2 separate regions of the Homo sapiens genome follow, and region 1 is linked to region 2. The links are contacts of gene promoters, found by promoter capture Hi-C in blood cells and fetal thymus (Javierre and others, 2016). All regions are on one chromosome and are shown on one strand. The core of a region is centred on a gene start or on the middle of the fragment in contact, and the rest is flanking DNA. Distances in the headings are between cores, read along the strand shown. Region 1 holds the start of POLD4 (DNA polymerase delta 4, accessory subunit). Region 2 holds the start of PITPNM1 (phosphatidylinositol transfer protein membrane associated 1).

Region 1 (5,677 bases), core at 624-3,123, 150 kb before region 2:
CATGTCTGACTGTGCCTAACTTGCCAGATCATGGGTCAGGGAGACAGGCAGCAGGTATTGGAAGGTGATGGCCAGGTCCTTTTCCCCAGTGACCACTCTCCATCTAGAAGCACTCTGCTTCAGCTGCGCAGGCTCTTCCGGGGACTCTGGGAGCCTGCTGGTTAGATGGAGGAGTTGAGCCTCTGACACCTCCAGGTTCTGCCTGCCAAGGGTTCCTCCGCAGCCGGGCTGAGCTGAGCAGGAGCAATGGGCTCTCGCTTCTGTCCTGAGGTTCTTGGGTGGTGAGCAAGAGAGCTAAGGGCAGGAGGTCTTACGTGGTGCCTCATAGGGGATAGAGATGCCAGAGACTGTGGAAGATGGGGTGGGAGGGAGGGATACCCCAGAGAGAGAGAGAGAGAAACAGAGAATCAGTTGTTGAGTCCCTGGATCTGATTTCACCAGCTTATTCTTGGCCATGCCCATAGTCCTTGGGAAACCCCTCAGTTCTAAATAGATAGTTCCTTGGGTCCTGGGTGTACCTTTGCCCCCCACTAGCTTGTAGAGGTAAGAATTATTGGCCGGGTGTGGTGGCTCACGCCTGTAATCCCAGCACTTTGGGAGGCTGAGGTGGGTGGGATCACGAGGTCAGGAGATCAAGACCATCCTGGCTAACACGGTGAAACCCTGTCTCTACTAAAAATAGAAAAAATTAGCCGGGCGTGTTGGCGGGCGCCTGTAGTCCCAGCTACTTGGGAGGCTGAGACAGGAGAATGGCGTGAACCCGAGAGGCGGAGTTTGCAGTGAGCCGAGATCGCGCCACTGCACTCCAGCCTGGGCAACAGAGCAAGACTCTGTCTCAAAAAAAAAGAATTATTATAGTGGCGTGTCCTCCTGAGCCAGGCACCTCATAGAATCTTCTTGCCTGTTCAGCAAGGCCTTCCAACCCTCCATCCATTTCTCCCTCAGGTCAGGACAGCAGGGTGACAGTGCCTGGAGAAGGCCCTGGCTCCCCTGAAAGCCCTCCCGGCCTGTCTCTGACCTGCACTGGAAGCGGGGGTCTCCGGGGTGGGTCTTCAGCACCTGCCACACCTCTGGGGGAGGCTCCAAGCCCATCTGCTTGGCCCGACACCAGCGCTGCAGCCGTGTGATCCCTGCCAGGGTGGGAAGAAGACTCTGGAGACTTGTGGGGGGTGGGGTAGAGTCTGAGCTGGAGAATGTGTGTGTTGGGGGGAGACAGTTCCTGAGGGTCAGAGTCACGCAAGCGCTTGGGTGACTTCAGAGACGTGTGGGTGACTGGCTGGGAGAGGCGCCTCCGTGGGGCTGGGTGGGTTCTCACCGGTGCAGGGCCCGTACTGCCAGGCCAGGTCAAACTGCCTCAGCAGCTCCAGCTCCGCTTCCTCCTCGTCGCGGGGCTGGGGCTCCTCCCCTGCAATGACAGCTGCTCTTCAGTACGAGGTTGGCTTCAGTCTCCTGCCCCTCACCTCCCAGCCTTCCTCACCACCGCTTTGCCTCTGCCACCCCGCAGCTAGACCTGGTGTCGGGAGGGGAGGACAGGCCACCTTTCCCTTTCCATCGGCCCCTCCGCCCCTCTAGGGGCCTCCTCTAGGCCCCTCCGTGTCCACTCCTCCTGCCTCCCTCACACCTCAGAGACCTAGCTCGGGTGCCAGCTCCCCCTTGCTGTGCCCAGCGGGCCCCTCCCTCCTCTTCACAACCGGGTAGGAATCAGTGATGAGCCGCTTCCGGCCCATGGCGGCCACCCAGGCAGGCAGAGAAGGAGGCAACTGCGGGGAAGAGGAGAGACCGGCCAGTGGGCGCGAGAAAGACAGCTGCTGAGAGAGACAGACGGGGCCAGGCCAGCGGCGGGCAGACAAGATGACCCAGACAAACCGAGAGAGGAAGTCGCCGGGGTCCAGGGAGGGACGCCTCCCCCACCCCCAAAAGCACGCAAACAGGAAAGACTTCAGCCAATGGCAGGCCGCCTATGCGGGGCGGGGCCCTGGCGCTAGCCAATGGTAGGCAGTGTAGGGTGAGGGGCGGGGCGGTGCCTCAGCTGTGGGCCGCGGGAGGAGGGGCAGGCTGGGGCGGGGGACCTGTCGGGATGCCCCGACTTCACCACCTTCCCCGGCCCCCATTGGTCTGCTGTGGGTCCCGAGAGACTTCAGGAGAGTTATCTTCAGCCTCTCACTTCCCGTTTTCCCTTCCTAGGCAAATGTTCTTTTCAGCTTCGCTAATCCCCGTGGCCAGTTTGTAACTCCCTAGAGTCCAGCTGGAGCCTTCACTCGGTCCTTTGGCCCGCCCCGCCTTGTGGGGGCAGGTCTGGAGGTCTGAAGAGAGTTTGGGCTAATCCAGGCCCCTTCCCGGCTCCCACCCAACCCCCACTGGCCCCAGGAGACCTGGCTGGAGAAGCCCATGGGTTCTGAAACCTCCTTTCTCACAGTCTGTGCCCAAAGATGCTGCCCACTCTTAGTCCGAGTAAGTGTTTGCCGTTTTGACTCTCCTGGGGTCCCAAGTCGTGTCCGGCCCGCCCCACCAGTCAGGAAGATTCCATACTGAGTAGGAAGGCAGAGCAAGGGTCTGGTCCCCCCACCACAATGTGTTTGGATCCCTAGTTCTTCACTGGCAAAATCTGCCCTGTCTCTCACAATAATGTGAGTCTGAGCAGAAAATATTAATAATAAACCTAACACTCATTGCACGTACCATGTGCCAAGTACTGTTCTAAGCACTTTCCCACATGTTAATTAAAATAGATGTCAAAAAGTTTTTGAAAGTAGGAAGTATAGCTAAATGATTATCACTGCTGATAGTCACAGGCATTGTAGGGCCCCAATCAAACCACAGTCTCTCTTGCACCCCAGGAGCTCACTGTCACAAGGCAGACAGATGCACAGTTGTCAGTGAGAGGCTATAATTCCTACCAGAAGAGGGAAAGGGTGGGTCAGAGATTGGTTAGGACCACAGGGATGATTAGCATTGGAAGGCCTCCTGGAGGAGGTGGACTGCTGTAAACAATGTCTCTCAATTCTCCACCCATGACCTTTGTCCCTTGGGCTCCTGTCATCACTGACTCACCCATACTGCTGCCTCCCCCTCACCAACTTCCTGGCAGGAGGCAAAAGTACTGGCCAGTGGGAGTCTGGGAACCAGCACAGGGACCAGCCCAGCTCTAATCACCCTCCAGAGATCCCATCCGGTTCTTCCTTCCAGGGATACTGGGAGGGTGGGGCACAGACTCCTGGGCTGCTGCCTGCTCAGAGGCCTCTGCCTCCTCCTTTCCCTGCTCTGGGGTCTGGGTGTTCTGCACTGGAAGAGGGCTAAGCCACTGGTACACGTGGGCACAAGGGAGGAAGCTGCTCTGGAAAGGAGACCACCAGAGGGGAGGCAGAGGAGCAGGCCATGTCTTCAGGGTCCACGTCCTGCCTGGCTCTCCCCATCGGCGTCCTAGAGGAGGGAGCTTGTGGGGGCACTGCATGGAGCTGGAGGGCCCTTTCTGCTGTATTGTTTGGGCTGGGCCTAGTCTAATCCCCCCATCTGCCTTGCGGACTAAGTGGGGCCCACATTCAGGGAGACAGTGTCCCTGCGGAGTTAGTGATGGAAGCAGGGAGGCCCTGTCTACCAGGGCTGGGAAGGGCCTAGGTGCTGAGTCCAGTCAGGTGCTGAGCATGCTAGGTAGGGATGGCGTCTAGGCTCTGGGGGATTGACTACCCCTCCCCAGAGGGTCTTGGCAAGGGTTCCTGGGCTGTTTCCAGAGGTGTGTGGCACCCACCTCCTGAGTCCACCAAGCCCTGAGGGAGTAGGGAGCCATGGGTGGGGCAGACCCCTCCTCATTCCCAGTCCCTCCCACCCCTGAAAGCTGATAGCCGTGGGGCCCTGCCACCGCCCAGGGAGCGTGAAATGGGGTGTGCCGCTGGGCAGCCACAGTAGCTCCTACCACCGCCTGGGCCTATTGCCTTTTCTCCTTGGGCAGCCTCTGGCATCCTGAGCTGCTCTGTAGATGTTGGCTGGGCTGTCCCTGCCAGCTTCCCCAGCTTTGCCTGGCACAGGCCCCAACCCAGGCTGGAAGATGTCTCCCTCAGGCTTCAGCTACCCCCACACCCAAGAAAAAGATTCAGAGTGGTCAGCTCAAGTGCAGGCACCCTAGGCCTGGCTTTCTGCCTTGGAGTTGAGGGAACTCTCTGCAGGCAGCATTGCTGCTCTCTCTTAGATGGCAGTAGGGTGGAGCCCCTAGGAAAGAGTTGGCACCCAGGGATTTTGGAACCATCCCTGTCCAACTGGCATGCCCTGACTCAGCACCTGAATCCCTAAGGTGCGCTGAGGACTAGGCTGGACCTTGACCTTCCTGTCCTCAGGTCTTTTCCTTCTTTGCTGTCCAACCCCATCCACCTTCTGTACCTTCTTGCCTAGAACCCCTTCACCTACTCAGGCAGCATCCTGGCCTCATTCCCTAAACTGCTGTCTTGGAGCCTGTTCAGGCTTCAGACTGGATGGCCAGGCCAGAGTTCTGGGTTGGGTGCTGAGTTCTCTCTCCCTGGGGGAATGTCCTGAGACCCTTGTGTCAGCCCCGACACCCAGAGGCTGGTGATGAGACTAGTAGGAGTGACCTTTGCACCTCAGCCTGGTAACAATACCCAAGACCCTTGCTTCAGGGCCAAGCCCAGAGTCCTGGGGGTCCAGGAGAGAAAAGAACTGAAACAGGAACCCGGCACCTTCCCAGGGGCTGAGGCCCACCGCTGACTGCACTCAAGGGAAGGATTAGGTCTGGCTTAGCTCAGACAATGTGGTAGAATGGGGGCCTCAGCACTGCACCTGCATTCCCTTCCCCCACCTCACCATGAGGTTTGTGGGGAGAGCCAGGTAGAGCTGGGAAGCTGGAGGCAGGTGGAGAGAGGGGAGCAGCTGCCTGGGACCCAGTGGGCTGTGGGGTGGATCCAGCTCTTCTTCCCTCTCGCCAGTACCCCCCTTCCTCAGGCCCTTGGGCCCTGCCACCCACCCTGAGCTGAAAGTCAGTCCCACTCAGGAGATTCTGGGCAGCCAGAATACCCCTGGCCCCGGCCCCCAACATACTCACACACCGTGGGCCCCATTCCTCACCCTGTGGGCCAGAATTCTTTCAGGCAGTCCTTCCTAGTCCCTCACTGCCTTCCCAGACACTCCCTCTTCCCCTGGTCCAGGTTCTCTGGCCTAATGTGCTTCCATCGCAGCAGCTTGAGTGGAAAGGATGGGGTCTCTGGGTTTTTCTACCACTGCATCTTCTGTCCTGCTCCTACCACCCTCCACACCTTCTTCTCTAGTCACCTCCTCTTTCACCTTGGCCATCCAGGCTCTGGAGCAGTTCCGGGAAGACTTGAAAAGGGGCCTTCTGGCCATTACTCACCTTGGCCACCAGGTGTCAGACTTTGCCCAGCTGGGTGGGAGGAAGGTTCTAGTTAACCATTTCCACCCCATCAGTCTGGCCTCAGAGAGAGATCTGGGCAAGTTGGGGAGGAGCCTAGAGGTGACCACTGAACTGGCAAGGCTGAGGGACCCTGAAGGTTGAGACTGGGAAAAGGACTGGAACTCTGACTCTACAGCTTTCCCCCAGATCCCCCTCACTGCCACTGCCCCCACACCACCCCACTGACAAGGGCTTTGTCCCCTGCTGGGAAGTTCAGGAACGAGGCTGAGTCAGGGAGCTTGAGAATTGAAGGAACAAAGGCAG
Region 2 (5,610 bases), core at 2,611-5,110:
AGAGTCACAGCCTCAGCCTGCACTCCTTAGCATGCTGCCAGTTAGAGCCGGTGACCTTCCTGAGTGTCTCTAAGTCTCATCTAACTCATAGGATGATGGAGAATCTTAGAATCTTAATGGAAGCAGCAGCATTTCTGAATGTCAGAGCCAGTATGGACCTTGTAGATCATGTTACCAGCTTCCTGCTCTGTGGATGCCTGGCTAGGCTGTGCGGCCGCTTCTGCCCTAGTGCTCCCCACCTCAAATGGAAACGATGGCTTTCTGCTTCTGTGTCCCCAGTGGATGGGAGCATCCCTGGCCCTAAACATGGGGTCTGGGGCATGCTGGGTAAGTGGGACCTCCCGCAGCTGGGTGCTCACCTACATCATGGATGAACTGCTCGATCTTGGCTTGCATGCCCCAGTAGCGGAACTCAACCTTGCACAGCTTATAGGCACACATAAGGGGCCCCGTCTGTGCCGCCGTCCGTGCCCAGTCATCAGACAGTGGCCCTCGGCCCGTCTTGACCGAGTGATAAAGCCGGGGGTCCTCTTCTGCTTTGTACTCGCCTGGGGCCACTGCATCCCGCACGATGTCGATGGTGTCTGAGGGAGTTCGGCAAGCATTGAGCAGCGCCAGCCCCTTTGAGCCCCCGCTCCTGGCACCCTCTTGGGACTGGATGACAGTTCCCGTCCTTTTGCAGACAGGACATGAGGCCTGGAGAGGGCTGGGACTTCTCAGAGGCTGCCCACTGAGGCAGCCAGGAGCCTGAGAGGGGCGCCAGGGTCCCCCCATAGCTCCAGGCCTCACCCAGGATGCGCTGTCTCCTCTCGGCCCCGCTCAGGTTGAAGACGTTTGGCTGCTGCCCCCCATCAGGCAGGTAATAGGTCTCAATTTCAATGGAGAATTTCTCCACGAAAGGGCAGGTGTACCTGGGCAGAAGGCACGGGTGAGGCTCACTGCTGTACCCACCAGGGCCGCTCCCCTCCTGGCCTCGGACCATGCCCAGCTCACCCACTCACCGGGTTCGGGTGTAGGGGTAGGCATTCCAGGATTCCTCTTCTACCTGCAGGGCAGCCTTGGGCAGCAGTGCCCGGAACCAGCCTGGGATGTGGGAGCCCACGTGGTACACCTTGTGTGTGTATTGCCCGCTGCCCCCGGGCCCATCCGTGTAGGGCCGGTTGGCCAGGATCTCCACGCCGCTGCCCTCACCACTAGACTCCTCCCGGCTCTTTTTCTGTGGCCCAAGGGAGAGCAGGACAGGGAGCTCAGCCCCAGCTTAGCATCTGGGATCCCCAGCTCAGCCTGGTGTTCTACACAGCTCTGGGGCCCTGGTCCCAGCCTTTTCAACTCCCTGAAACCAGACCCCGCCCCACCAAAGCTCCCTGGGATCAGAATCACAGATGCAGCCCAGCCCCGCATGGGGTCTGCAACCCAGCACTCAGTTGAGTCATTCAAGTATTCATTGAGTGTCTGCTCCACTCCAGGCAGTGTTTGGGATTATATCAATTGAGATATATTGATGAATAGAACAAAGATCCCTGCCCTCGTGGAACTTACATTCTAGTGGAAGGAGACAGACAAAAGGAAAAAGCAAATTATGTGGTGTGTTAGAAGGCGCTAGGTGCTATAGGAAAAGAAAGCCTAGAGTAGGGTATAGGTGATGAGGGTTGGGGGCTGCAGTTTTGATCTGATAGTCAGGGAAGGCCTTGCTAATAACACAATGTGACCATGGCTTGAACATGACTTTAAGGAGGTGAGGTAGGAGGAGGTGCTCAAGGCCGGGGGAAGCCAGTGCAGCCCCAAGGTGGGAGCATACTGGATGTGCTGGCAGGTGGCAAGGAGGCCGGGGTGGCTGGCAAGGAAGAAGGGACTAGGAGAGGAAAAGGGGCCTCCAGCTCTCAGAGGCCCTGACCCTGGCCCCCTCCCTCTCTGGGAGGCCCTGGCCGCCTCCCAATCCCAGCTCCGCCACACCCCTCAGAGCTTGAGAGCCCCCAGATCCTGCCTTCTATTGCTCCGGGGCTCAGATGGCCCTTTCAAGCCCGAGGCGGGGTCCGGGCCCTCTTGCTTTATGAGATTCTGGTCCTGCTGTGCTGGGGACAGATCTGGAGCAGACTCCCCCAGGCCCCGCACCAACCCGGCCACTGCTGAGGGCCTGCCCTGGCCCACTCTTCTCACTGCCCTACACCAGAGCCTCCTCGCCCTCCCATCCTTGCTGCCCTGTCCCTGCTCCAGGTTTGACACCTGGTCCTCACCACATCTCCCTGACCTCCAGGGATGGCCAGGACCCTCCACTTCTCCAGACCCCCTCCCGCCTTCCTCTGCCGCGGAGGCCCCCCTCCTCATTCTTGCCGCCTCCTGGGCGCTTTTTCCTTCCCCGATGGGATTACAGATCCTGAGGAGGATTACAGGAGATCAGAGGAGGGCTGGGCACTTAGCGGATGGGAAGCACCACTCGGCCCTCCTGCCCCTCTTCCCACAGTCCTTCCCCATTCCCACATCTGAAGGGGGGCCTCTCTTGCCTCCTCCGGGCTCCCAGCCGGTCCCAGCCCCGGGGCAGGGCTGGCGGGGTCGGCAGGGCTCCACCCCTTGCCCGGGTGCCCTCTCCCCGCCGCCCTCACCTGGATCATGTAGAGCTGGGCCACCTGGTACTCGTCCAGGCTCATGGGCAGCAGAATGTGGTATTCCTTGATGAGCATCCTGAAGGCGCTCGGCGGGCCGCGCGCGGCCTCCGCTCCTCCTGGCGCAGGGCACGGCGCGACAGTCAGTGCGGGGAGGCTGCGCGCGGCCCCGAGCCCTGCGCGCCGGCCGAGGGACTCAGGCCACGGGACCCCATGTCCGGGCCCGCCACGAGGGAGGCAGAGGCGAGCCTAGCACCGCCGCCCGCGCCGCCGGGGCCGGGAGCCGCAGCGAGGCTGAGCGCTGACCTCTTTTCCGCGCAGCCCCCGCCCCCCGCCCGCCCGTCGCCATGGCAACCGCGCGCTGACGCGGGCCCCCCGGAGCGCCAGGCTCCGGCCGGCGGGCGGGAGGGCCACCTCACCTCTCCCGCTGCGACCGCGTCCTAACCCCGGGAAACGGCATCCCTCTGGGCGCGCCCCCGAAGCCCCGGGGCCCCTCCTTCCGGGCCCGCCTTCCGCGACCGGCCCCTCGGGGACCCGCCCCTTGCATCCCCTTCCCGGAGTCGGCGGGGTCCCAAGTCCCCCACTCTCGGACGTCCACCTAGAGCTTTGTTCCCCGAGTGTCTCTGCGCGGAGTGGCCCAGTGCGCCCAGCATCTCTGCCAGGGTTCCCCACGCCCTGCACCCGAACCTACCTTCCGGGACCGGTAATCTCCTCCGCCCTCCAGATCTGCCTTCTTGGGCAGCCGGGTCCTCGACCTCCCCCTCCCAGCATCCTTCCTGGACCCCTGGCCCTCGCCGGCTCTCCACGCGCCTAGGCAGCCACTCCGTCCTCTTCCCAGGGGGTGAGCCCTCCTCAGGCTGAGGCCAGAGTGGCTCCACTTGGTATCCCACGGGCCATGGCCCTGGAGACCCGCTCCGTCCACCTGCGCCCCAGACTGGCACCGAGGTTCCGCTGCAGGCACCCCTCCATCCCCCACTCGCACCCCGCGAGCAAGCGAGAGGCCCCGTTGTCCCCACTTCCCTCTGCTCGCCGGCGTCCCGGTCCCCTGCCGCGCTCTTGGCCCGCCTGCCGACGCCCCGGCTCACCTCTAGCTTGAGGCGGGCGCCCCTCACCCAGCCCGGGCAGGGCCGGCCGGCCCGTGGGTCGGAGCCCGGAGCGCCCCCAGCCCCGGCCTCGGGTTCCAGCGGTGGCCGGACCCTCCCGAGGCGCAGTGCCGGCCCATGGCCCCGACCTTCCTCTCGATCCGCCCGCCGGCGCCCCTGCAGTCCCTCCCCGACGCCCGCCGCGTCACTGCGGCCGCCCCGCCCCCTTCCTGGGCCCGGCTGGCCCTCCCCACCCCGGCGGGGTCCGGGCAGCCCCGCCTGCAGCGGAGGAGGCAGGGAGGGAGGCCCCTGCCTTCCTTCCCCCGGGCAGTGGGAAAAAGGCCATTGCCTAAATTCTGGCTCTTCCTAGTCCCTCTGTGCTGATTGGGGTCCCCAAAGACTCTTAGTTCCTATCTCCACCCTAGCCCAGCCCTCCTGTGTGCAGTCACAGGGTGGTTTGATATGGGGGGTCCCAGGCCCACTCTCCTCTTCTCACTCTCTGCAGTCCTTAGATTTGGGACCCAGGGTTGAGGAAATGCCTCCCCACCAGTCTAGCCAGAAGCTGGTGGCTCTGACATGCCTCCACCTAGGGCTGGGCTCGGCTCCAGGGCCCCAGGCCTCTATGGTCACCCAGCTACACGCCCAGGCAGAAACGGGCTGTCACTGTGAGTGGCTGGGCTAGCCCCTGCATGGTGCCACAAAGCCTCCCCCACCTCTGCCTTCCGGGTCCACAAGTCCGGTCACCCAGCCACCCGGAGTCTGGGCAAAGGCCTCACGAGGCACCCCAAGGCTGGGTTCATGGGATCCCACCCAGCCTGCTACAAGGTGCTGGGGCAGTGACGGCAGCACCCCGCCAGCCCCTCCCCTTGACACTGAGGCCAAGTGCTGGAAGCAGCAGTGCCCTTTCTCTCTGAGAAGTCAGAGACCTTCAGGGCTGATTCAGAGGCTGGGGTGTTGTCAGGGCATTAGGGCGTGTGAGGGAGTGGCTTACGTGAACTGGCATTTCCATGCTGCCAGGCATCACCGCCAATCCAGAGGAAGCGCCCTCCAGGCCCAGGCTGCCCACAGCGCCAAGGGCTGTGGAAGCAGCCAGGCCCTGTGCTGCCCCCTGGTGGCACCACAGGAAGGCCCAGGGCTCTCAGCGCCACGGCTGGGGCGGAGAGGGCCCAGGTCCCACCAAAGGCTGATGGCCTACAGAGGCAAGTCAAACCTCATTTAATCACACCCTCCCCATCCATAGTCTCCTCTTCCCCTGTCTCTGCCTGGCCCACCCAGGCTTAGCTGAAGAACCAGACCCAGAAAGGCTCAGAGCTGAGAGCACAACTCCAAATCATCTTTTATTAATATAAAAAGGGCATATTTAGCAAAAGACACACAGATAAAAGAGTCACTATGGCTCAGGACACAAGGCAGGGAGGTGCCAGGCCTGTGCCCCTGCTGGGGGAGAAGGAGGCTCGGGACAAAGTGGGAGAAGTGCTGGGAAGGGCTGAGCGGTAGGGGCCACAAAAGTTCCGGTGGGCAACACTGTCGGCAGGTCATGGGTGGGACTCATGGGGACCTCGCTGCTAACTCTTGTTGTGGGGGGGTGTCCTTAGTGCTGCCACCTGGAGGGCCACTCCTTGGTTCCTGGAGGGGACCCACCAAGGGACACAGGACAGGAAGCCCAGGATGGTTAGTGCAACTCGGGATGAAGGCCAGGGAGAAGCGGGTGCTCTGCAGTGGCCGGATAGGTCCAGACGCTGAGGCCGAGGCGCTTCCTGTTACGTGCGGGCGTTCCGCTCTGTCTCTGCCAGGCACTCTCTGACTAGGGCCCGGGCATGGATGATACCTGGGGGTGGGGTGGGGTCTCAGCAACCCTCCACAGCCCCACCCACTGCCCTCCAGAGGAGGACCCCTGCCTCCCCACTCCCTTTCCACTTTCGGCAAAA

Evidence for each region. The method cuts DNA at HindIII sites, captures the fragments that hold promoters and counts their contacts. A CHiCAGO score of 5 or more calls a contact.
Region 1: a contact is called between the fragment with the promoter of POLD4 here and the fragment with the promoter of PITPNM1 in region 2, in 9 of 17 cell types (total B cells, naive CD8 T cells, activated CD4 T cells and 6 more). The highest score is 7.0, in total B cells.

What each region holds. Positions count from the first base shown.
Region 1 is chr11:67,351,673-67,357,349 of GRCh38, forward strand. It overlaps POLD4 (DNA polymerase delta 4, accessory subunit), which reads right to left and starts at 1,874. Exons shown (of 4, transcript NM_021173.5): 1 at 1,631-1,874; 2 at 1,316-1,405; 3 at 1,019-1,130; 4 at 1-347. The coding sequence starts at 1,727. The coding sequence ends at 323. The region is part of intron 2 of LOC100130987 (a long non-coding RNA gene); the gene reads left to right. RefSeq lists enhancers at 554-1,136, 1,137-1,718, 1,712-1,761 and a silencer at 1,942-2,191. The HindIII fragment of the contact is 23,887 bases long and covers 1-5,677 here.
Region 2 is chr11:67,501,503-67,507,112 of GRCh38, forward strand. PITPNM1 (phosphatidylinositol transfer protein membrane associated 1) reads right to left here and starts at 3,861. Exons shown (of 24, transcript NM_004910.3): 1 at 3,686-3,861; 2 at 2,601-2,719; 3 at 1,002-1,216; 4 at 790-911; 5 at 360-584. The coding sequence starts at 2,678. CDK2AP2 (cyclin dependent kinase 2 associated protein 2) reads right to left here. Exons shown (of 4, transcript NM_005851.5): 4 at 4,995-5,510. The coding sequence ends at 5,443. RefSeq lists enhancers at 1,570-2,319, 2,320-3,069 and silencers at 2,848-2,947, 3,028-3,147, 3,158-3,317, 3,528-4,157. The HindIII fragment of the contact is 23,305 bases long and covers 1-5,610 here.